Regions from separate parts of the Homo sapiens genome. Here all the other regions are linked to region 3. The links are contacts of gene promoters, found by promoter capture Hi-C in human tissues and cell types (Jung and others, 2019). All regions are on one chromosome and are shown on one strand. The core of a region is centred on a gene start or on the middle of the fragment in contact, and the rest is flanking DNA. Distances in the headings are between cores, read along the strand shown.

What was found. Contacts are between HindIII fragments. The study calls those that stand out against the background at their distance.
Region 1: a fragment that was not itself captured here is called in contact with the fragment with the promoter of LIPG in region 3 in 1 of the 25 tissues and cell types used here (spleen).
Region 2: a fragment that was not itself captured here is called in contact with the fragment with the promoter of LIPG in region 3 in 1 of the 25 tissues and cell types used here (dorsolateral prefrontal cortex).

What each region holds. Positions count from the first base shown.
Region 1 is chr18:48,672,293-48,675,258 of GRCh38, forward strand. The region is part of intron 6 of CTIF (cap binding complex dependent translation initiation factor); the gene reads left to right. LOC105372107 (a long non-coding RNA gene) reads right to left here. Exons shown (of 4, transcript XR_007066460.1): 4 at 1,233-1,384. Among named protein-coding and RNA genes, the nearest start is that of MIR4743, 3.2 kb to the left of the region's middle. RefSeq lists an enhancer at 2,853-2,966. The HindIII fragment of the contact is 5,935 bases long and covers 1-2,966 here.
Region 2 is chr18:50,206,150-50,208,964 of GRCh38, forward strand. It overlaps the pseudogene RN7SL310P. Among named protein-coding and RNA genes, the nearest start is that of MYO5B, 12 kb to the left of the region's middle. The HindIII fragment of the contact is 4,732 bases long and covers 1-2,815 here.
Region 3 is chr18:49,560,651-49,563,350 of GRCh38, forward strand. It overlaps LIPG (lipase G, endothelial type), which reads left to right and starts at 1,407. Exons shown (of 10, transcript NM_006033.4): 1 at 1,407-1,755. The coding sequence starts at 1,659. RefSeq lists an enhancer at 1,614-2,114. The HindIII fragment of the contact is 10,319 bases long and covers 1-2,700 here.

The sequences.
Region 1 (2,966 bases), core at 61-2,560, 890 kb before region 3:
GTCCTGAGGGTCAGCTGGCCTAGCTATTAGCATATGTGGTGGGGACAACTCTTAATAGTATGGACGTGTCCAATGCAATGTGGGATATTTAGGACTCCTGGCCTCTGCCACTGAATGGCCGTCACTGGAGAGGGGCAGGCATAGTGACCACCAAAAACATCCTCCTACTTCCAGATTCACCTAGGAGATATTGTGCATCCAGCTGAAGGCCCCCAAATGGGAGGGAAAGCCCACCTCTAGCCTGAGGACCTCCAGCCCTCCTATGGGAGTCTTGAGCCTGTACATAGATAAGCGGGCTTCCTAGAGACTTTCTTAGACAAAAATCAGGGCTGGCCTCCCCTCCCTACCTGGAGGCAAGAAGGAAAGAGGGTGACAAAGGGAGGTTGGCCTCAAGCCCATTGCCTACCTGCCCTCCACTTCTGCACCCCAGAAGAAGAGGGGCATAAAGATCCTACCAGCTGTGTCCCCAGCATGTTCTCAACCCACAGAGGCCCAGACCCCCATCTCCGGCCCCTTCTGTCCCTGTTCGGACTCCTTAGCAGGCAGGAGGCTTTGTGATGTTCTCAGCACCCTTGCCCAGCCTCTGTCCTGGGCTCCCCCTGCCATCCTGTGGCCCTGTCAGTCCCTCCCCTGATCTGTTCTGATCTTCCATCTCTCCTTGCTTTCTCACCAGCAGGCGGTTCCCTCTGCCTAAAATCTCACTCAGCCCTTCTCTGCCTGTCCTTTTTCTGGCTCAGGATACCTCCCCTGATCCCTCTCAGATGCACAGGATGGAGTCCAGCATCCACCTGCCATTTCCCCAGAGCCCCTGCCCCCATCTCTGTGGCATGGCTCCCACCACGTCGCACCTGCTTACATAACTGCCAGACTCCCTTCCTGGACTCTGGGCTGCCTGAGGGCTGGGCCATTTCCTTCAGCCTCATAACCCCAGCACCAGGTGCTCTAGAGTGAGTGCTGCTGAAGAACCTCCTTTCTAGATGTGCTGTTGTGTTGTCTAGAGTGTACAAGAAAGGCAGGATTTGTGTCTGTCTTGACACTCAGTCGTCCCTCTGTCTCTGAGTTTCTCCCACCACTTCCCAGCAGAAATTCAGCATGAACCTGGTTATGCTCTTCTCGGTGTGATTTCTGAGACACATTTGTTGTTGTTGTTGTTAAAGAAAACAGGATTTTTCCATCGTCTCCTGTATTAGGACACTATAGGCCATGGCATAATACTAAACAAACCCCACATCTCAGTGGAATCACACACAGAATTTTATTTCTAACTTTCTGAAATTCTGCTGAGGGTCCAGCTGGTCTCCAGGGTAGCTCCTTGGGGACTCCAGGGTCCAGGTGGATTGCGTTCTGTGGCCCTGCCATCTCAATCCATGGTATCCAAGTGGCCCTGGCACAGGCAAAGAGAGCTGGAGGGTCGTGTTCTAGGTCAAGCTTGGCCAACCTGTGGCCCAGGATGGCTTTGAATATGGCCCAAAACAAATTTTTAAACTTTCTTAAAACATTATGAGGTATTTTACAATTTTTTGTTTTAGCTCATCAGCTATCATTAGTGTATTTTATGTGTGGCCCAAGACAGTTGTTTCGGTGTGGCCCAGGGAAGCCAAAAGATTGGACACCCCTGCTGTATGTCTTAAATGCTTTGGCCCAGAAATATCAGCTCCACTCAGAGCCCATTGGACAGAACTAGTCACATGCCCCCGCCCCAACTGCAAGGGCTGACACTTCTGCAGGGGAGCGGGAAGAAGGGGAGCACATGGCTGTTCTGTAAGCCTCAAGTGCCTCTGCCAAATCTTCCTCTTTCCTTCACTTGCTCACTTAACTCATCTTCATGGACAAGTGCTCTGCCCTAGCCTTTTAGAGAGAGAGAATTGATCACATAAGATACAGTTCCCCACGAGAGGCACAGCCTAGTAGAGGAAATGAGACATGCACAGATTACCACATGCATTCAAAGCTGCAAATGCCCGAGCAAGTGCTGGTGCCTTGCCCAGGTCACAGTCCCTGAAGGGCAAAGTCTGGGTCCTCTCCCAGTACACCCCACCTTCCTCCCCTGTGCTGCTGCAGCTCCTGCAGTCTGGGGCGTGAATGTGTGGCTGAGTACAAAGCAGAGGGCGCCATGGGCCCCCACACTGAATGCCTGTTGATCTCCTGGGAGCCCTAGCTTATCTCTCAGTGGGTTACACACAGAGCGCATGCCACAATGAGTGGTTTTAGGAGGTGATGCCTCCACTGGGGGTCAGATGCTGACACCTAGGCGTCTGGCCAAGCTCCTCTCCAGCCAAAGCCAAGGCCCCTATTCCTGGTGACTCCATCTGGCTGTGTTTCCACAACTGGCAATGAATCCAGGGGTGAGTCTCACTGCAGTGCTGACCTCAGGAACTTCATCTCTGGAGCTGCTGGACTCAGGCTCTTGGAGCCCCCACAAGGATGTGGGGCAACAGGGTAGACAGTAGGTGTCTGTGTCCAGGGCTCACCCTATACCTCTGTGAACCCCTGCTGCCAGGAATAGTTCTGCACTCTGAAAAGGCATTTAGTGAGCTAGTTAAGTAAAGGGTCTGTTGGTGGTGTTAACTGTCCCCAAGGTCTTCCTTCCCACACTGGTGGCTGGAGGGAAAGGAGCAGGTACGCTGGGATAGGAGCTAGCCAATAGCCAGGTTTTATGGCATCCACACCGAGGCATGACATGCCATACAATGGCAGCCTCAGGCCAGTTGAGACTGACATTGCTCTCTAAGAACACTGATGGGGTGGTGGGGGGTCGGCGGGGGTGGAGTGGGTGGGAGATGGGGGGCAGCAGAAGGCTCTGAGTACAGGGCCATGGATTCAGGGTTCAATCATGGTTCTCAGTGTTGAAGCCATAGGGCAGGCAGACACTGAGACACACACTTGGGCTCAGACTGCAGTTCTAGGGGACCCCCAAATTCCATCCACAAGGCTGGTGTCCTGGTAGCATTTTTGGCATCTCTATC
Region 2 (2,815 bases), core at 161-2,660, 650 kb after region 3:
AGCCCATTTTCCTCAATTCTCAATTCTAATCCATCAGCAAAGCCTAATAGTTCAATCTCCAAGGCACATCCCAAATCAGGCACCTTTTCCATCTCCAGTGGTGCCACCCTCCACCAGCCCCAGCCATTTCCTGCTGGGCTACTGCAAAAACCACCTGCTTGGTCTCTCCACTTCCATTTATTTGACCTCATCTCTTCCTGCCCTTCTCCTTTCTTACTTTGAGCTCCCGACCTCAATCCCTTCTTTCTGTTCCTCAAACATGCTGTGCTTATTCTCACCTCAGGCTATTTGAAGCTACTGGCTCCTTCCCTGGAAGGCTCTACCCCTGACATTCACCTCAGGCCCAAAATTTAAATAAGCACCAAGAAAACTTAGTACTCAAGACATTAGGACAATAATTTAATGCAATAGCAAAAAAAAAAAAAAAAAAAAAAGGTCCATGACGAAAAAAAACACAAATTTAAATAAAGACAGGATTCAGGAGTGCCATGCTAAGCCATATAGAATCCAAAGGCCAGAGGTAAAAATGTGTGCCCCTATATACATTTTTTTTTGAGCTGGAGTCTCACTCCGTTGCCCAGGCTGGAGTGCAATGGCGCAATCTCGGCTCACTGCAACCGCCTCCCAGGTTCAAGCTATTCTCATGTCTCAGCCGCCCAAGTAGCTGGAATTACAGGCGCCCACCACCGCGCCCAGCTAATTTTTGTATTTTTAGTAGAGACAGGGTTTCGCCACATTGGTCAGATTGGTCTCAAACTCCTGACCTCAGGTGATCCACCCACCTCAGCCTCCCAAACTGCTGGGTTTACAGGCATGAGCCACCGCACTCAGCCTTGTATTTCTTTTTAAGAGGCAGGGTCTCACTATGTTGCCCAGCCTGGAGTACGGTGGCTGTTCACAGCCTCGATCAGGAATTTTGACCTGCTCAGTTTCTGACCTGGGCTGGTTCACCCCTCCTTAGGCAACCTGGTGATCCCAGCTCCTGGGAGTTCACTATGTTGATGCCAAACTTAGTGCAGACACCCGGTCAGCATAACACACTACAGCCCAGAACTCCTGAACCCAAGCAATCCTCTTGCTTTAGCCTCTGGAGTAGCTGGGACTATAAACATGTGCCACCATGCCCAACTGTATATATATATGTGTGTGTGTGTGTGTGTGTGTGTGTGTGTGTGTGTGTGTGTGTGTATAGAGAGAGAGAGAGAGAGATGGAGTTTCGCTCTTGTTGCCCAGGCTGCAGTGCAATGGCGCGATCTCGGCTCACTGCAACCTCCGCATCCCGGGTTCAAGCAATTCTCCTGCCTCAGTCTCCCGAGTAGCTGGGATTGCAGGCATGCGCCACCACGCCTGGCTAATTTTTGTATTTTTAGTAGAGACAGGGTTTCTCCATGTTGGTCAGGCTAGTCTCAAACTCCCGACCTCAGGTGATCCGCCTGCCTCGGCCTCCCAATGTGCTGGGATTACAGGCGTGAGCCACCACGCCCAGCCCCAGCTGTATATTTTTAAAGGTTAACTTTTCCCAGGATCTTAAAGGAGTTAAAAAATATTGAAAAATTTTAAAGTGGGTTGTTAAAATGCACATTATGTTAAGCTTAAATATTTTATTATACTTGTGTTAAGGGATCTCCAGGACTCCAGGTTTGAGGATTTGCTAGAAGGACTCACAGAATTCAAAAAAGCTGTTATAGTCATGGTTTTGGCTTATTACAATGAAAGGATGCAGATTACAATCAGCAAAGGAAAAAAAGTGCACAGGGCAGAGTCCAGAAGAGACGAGACATAAGCTTCCATTGTCCTTAACAAGGAGAATTGTAGGGAGAGCACCCAGCAATGATGTGTGACAACATGGAGGAAGTATTGCCAAGCAGGGAAGCTCACCCAAACTTGCAAGGTTTTCACTGGGGGCCAGTCTTCATTTCTCCCACCTCCAGAGGTGAAATGAATACAGCATGGCCCAGGTTCCCAGGTGAACAACAACAGGTTTCAACAAAAATTACATCGTTAGTATAAATCCGGGATAGGCCAGGTGCAGTAGCTCATGCCTGTAATCCCAGTGCTCTGAGGGGCTGAGGCAGGAGGACTGCTTGAGGCTGGGAGTTCGAGACCAGCCTGGGCACAGAACAAGATCCTGCCTATACAAAAAATTTTTTAAATTAGCTGGGTGTAGTGGCATGTTCCCATAGTCTTAACTACTCAGGAATCTGAGGCAAGAGGATGGCTTCAGCCCAGGAATTCGAGGCTGCAGTGAACTATGATCGTGTCACTGCACTCCAGCCTGGGCAACGGAGTGAGACTCCATCTCTAAAATAAAAAATAAGAAGCTATCTAGGGTAGTCCAAGTCTCTAGGAAGACAAAGACACTCATATCAGGCAGAATTCCAAGAACTCACAGGTTATATCTCCCGGGAGCCTCAAGGGTCCATCCTTTCTTTGGAATGTGCAGGGTTGGACACCTCAAGCCTGCTGAATTAATCTTTAACTGCATAATAACAAAACCAGAAGTTAGTATAACTTCACTGGCTTTAATGAAGCAAGCTCATCAATAATATTTTCTGGATCAATCAATAATATCTACTTCTGGAAAAAGTTAACCACTGAAGAAATACATTAAGGCATGTCTATACAGACACACATTTTTCTTTTGGCCTCTGATTCCAACATGGTTGAGCATAGCACTGCCAGATCCTGTCTTTATTTAAAATTTTGATATTTCATGCTTTGTGGACTTTTTGCATTAATTTTGATTTTTAAAAATATTATTGATCCATAGACTGGGCGCAGTGGCCCTATAACCCTCAAGCCTGTGATTTCTCAT
Region 3 (2,700 bases), core at 157-2,656:
CACGGGAGGGACAAAGCGTGCTCTGCTGGCAGCTGGAGTAACAAAAGTAATGAGGCGAGGTCGGAACAGGATCTGCTGGCTCCGGCTCGGTTTCCTCGCACAGGTCTCTCCAGCTGGATCCTCGACGCTAGGGAGGAAGGGGCGCGGGACTGCTGTGGGGGTTTTCCCTCCCCAGGCAGGGGCAGGACCTGTTCCGGGCGACTGCAGGGTTAAGGGTATCGTCTTAAAGAGCCGGATCCTCCCGGCTGGAGCGAGGCTGGATGGCGGGACGCAGCCTCTCAGCCTCTCGTACCCGCCCTGCGTCCGCAGTGGTTGTTGGCGCAGCCGCCCCGTCGGTGTTCCGGGCTCAGTCCCCGCTCCCCAGCGCCAGACGCAGACTCCGGGCCAAGTTCTCCCTCCGCTCGCTGCTTTCTGCCGCAGGACCCGGATCAATAAAGGGAAGGAGAGCCGGGAGGAAATGATGGAGAACAGAGAGAAAGGAGATGCTTGATTTCACTCGCCAAGGAGTGAGTGCTCATCGGCAGACACTGGGCTCTGGCCACGCGTCTTAGACTCCAAATCTCGGCTCACTGGTCCCTTTGAGGAGGTCGCCTGGTGTTCCCGTAGCCCTCCACCCCACCGTAGGAGAGCGCCTGCCACGAGCTCCGCGCCTCGCTAAGTGCTTTGCTACGTGAACTCTTAGTTTTCCCAACATCCCTAAGCCGCCGATACATTATCACCCACGTATTGCGGACGAGAGAACCGCCTCGGAGAAGCTGGCTGGCTCGCTTGGAGTTTTGCAGCTAGTGGCGGAGCGAGCATTCCGAGCAGGTACTGTGCGATCCTCCAGCGCCGGCCGCAGCTCACAGCCCCTTAGCTCCGCCGGGTTATTGTGCGGCCGCGCCTTCTGCACCTGTTGCGGCCCTCGCTAGGCGGGAAGGGAGGGAGAAGAGGAGGACAAAGGGGATGACCAGGTGGCTCTCCCCCGACGGACTCCCGGCCCAGGGAGCGGATAGACCACTCCCAGAGAGAGTGTGGCTTTGAGCCTTGGAGAGGATGCTCTCCTTCTCCAGGGATCGCCTCCCCAGCGGACGCAGAGTTTCAGGGAAATGTCCGCCTCCGCCACTTGGGATGGCAGTGGGGAGAGGAGGATCTGGGTGTCCGGAGGAGGGCAGTGGGAGAAAGCTGGAGCTGCTGGAGTCGCAGCTGCCTGCGGAGCGGGCCCGGGAGGAAGCGGGGCCGAGCGTGCGGCGTCCACGCGGTGAGTGTGCAGCGCTTTCATTCAAACTTTCTCCAGTCTCGGTTCCGGCGTCAGCAAGGTGTGACCAATCAGAGCCCAGAGACGGGAATAAATTATGCAAATCACCATCTGGCGATGGGTCAGATGACTCCCATACTTTTAAAAACTACCTCTATAGGAGCGTGACAGCAGCGAGTCCTTGCCTCCCGGCGGCTCAGGACGAGGGCAGATCTCGTTCTGGGGCAAGCCGTTGACACTCGCTCCCTGCCACCGCCCGGGCTCCGTGCCGCCAAGTTTTCATTTTCCACCTTCTCTGCCTCCAGTCCCCCAGCCCCTGGCCGAGAGAAGGGTCTTACCGGCCGGGATTGCTGGAAACACCAAGAGGTGGTTTTTGTTTTTTAAAACTTCTGTTTCTTGGGAGGGGGTGTGGCGGGGCAGGATGAGCAACTCCGTTCCTCTGCTCTGTTTCTGGAGCCTCTGCTATTGCTTTGCTGCGGGGAGCCCCGTACCTTTTGGTCCAGAGGGACGGCTGGAAGGTAACGTGAATTTGTTTTTATTCCCCCCAGCCACTTCTCTGTGCTGGGTCCCCTCTGTCTTGCTGATTCTTCAAACCCTCCTTGTTCCTATGAAATTCTTCCTTTCCCACTGCGCTGCCCATTCTCTCCTCCAATCCACCTTGGAGTCCACCTGTCTCTCTGCTGGTCTGATGGGGGCATTCCCGGCAAGTCATGCAAAAGGCAAAGGCTGGCAGGGTGCGCTGGCTCTTGCCAGCCCTCCCACCCCCACCTCCTTCCCTTATACGGCTCCCTAAGCCAGTGCTGGTGCTGTCCAGCCAGCCGAGCGGCCTGGCAGCAGCTCTGAAACCTTGTCCTCATGCCTGAACCTGGAGGTTTGAGAGGCAAGAAGGCTGTCAGAGCTGTGTCTCCTGGAGCTGCCTTTTAATCTTGGTGTAGGTGTCTTGAAAGTTCAGGTGGCAGGGTAGCTGGCTTTGGTTTGATTCGTGCTTGCAGGGAGCGTCTGGTGGGTCGCTTGTGCTTAGAAGCTGCCGGGCCTATTCCCCCAGGTTGCCAGCCTTTTCCTCTTCAACACTCTTGTGCTCCCCCGACTCTTCCTCTTCCCACTCCTCCTCCCTTTCCTCCTCCTGGCTTTTAGCTTCTCTTCCTCTTGGGTTCTGTATGGCAGCCTTTGCCAGTGGAGGCAGCTTGCCCTGGGGGAGCCAGAGTCAGTCAGCTCTGGGGGAGTCAGAATCAGAGTGAGAACTAAGTCAGCTGATAAGCAGTGGAGGGCTGGGGAGCCTCTAAACTGAACCCCATCATCTCATCTTCTAGTCTGCTGAGGTTGTGCCAAATGGTCTGTGTGGGCTTGTGTATGTGTGGGAGGGTTACTGTGAATGAATGGAAAGCCTTGCTTTACTCAACATGTTTCCAACTCTGGTGCTAACTAGAAGCATTGCCTAGGGCAGGTCTCATCTCTGGCTCCTC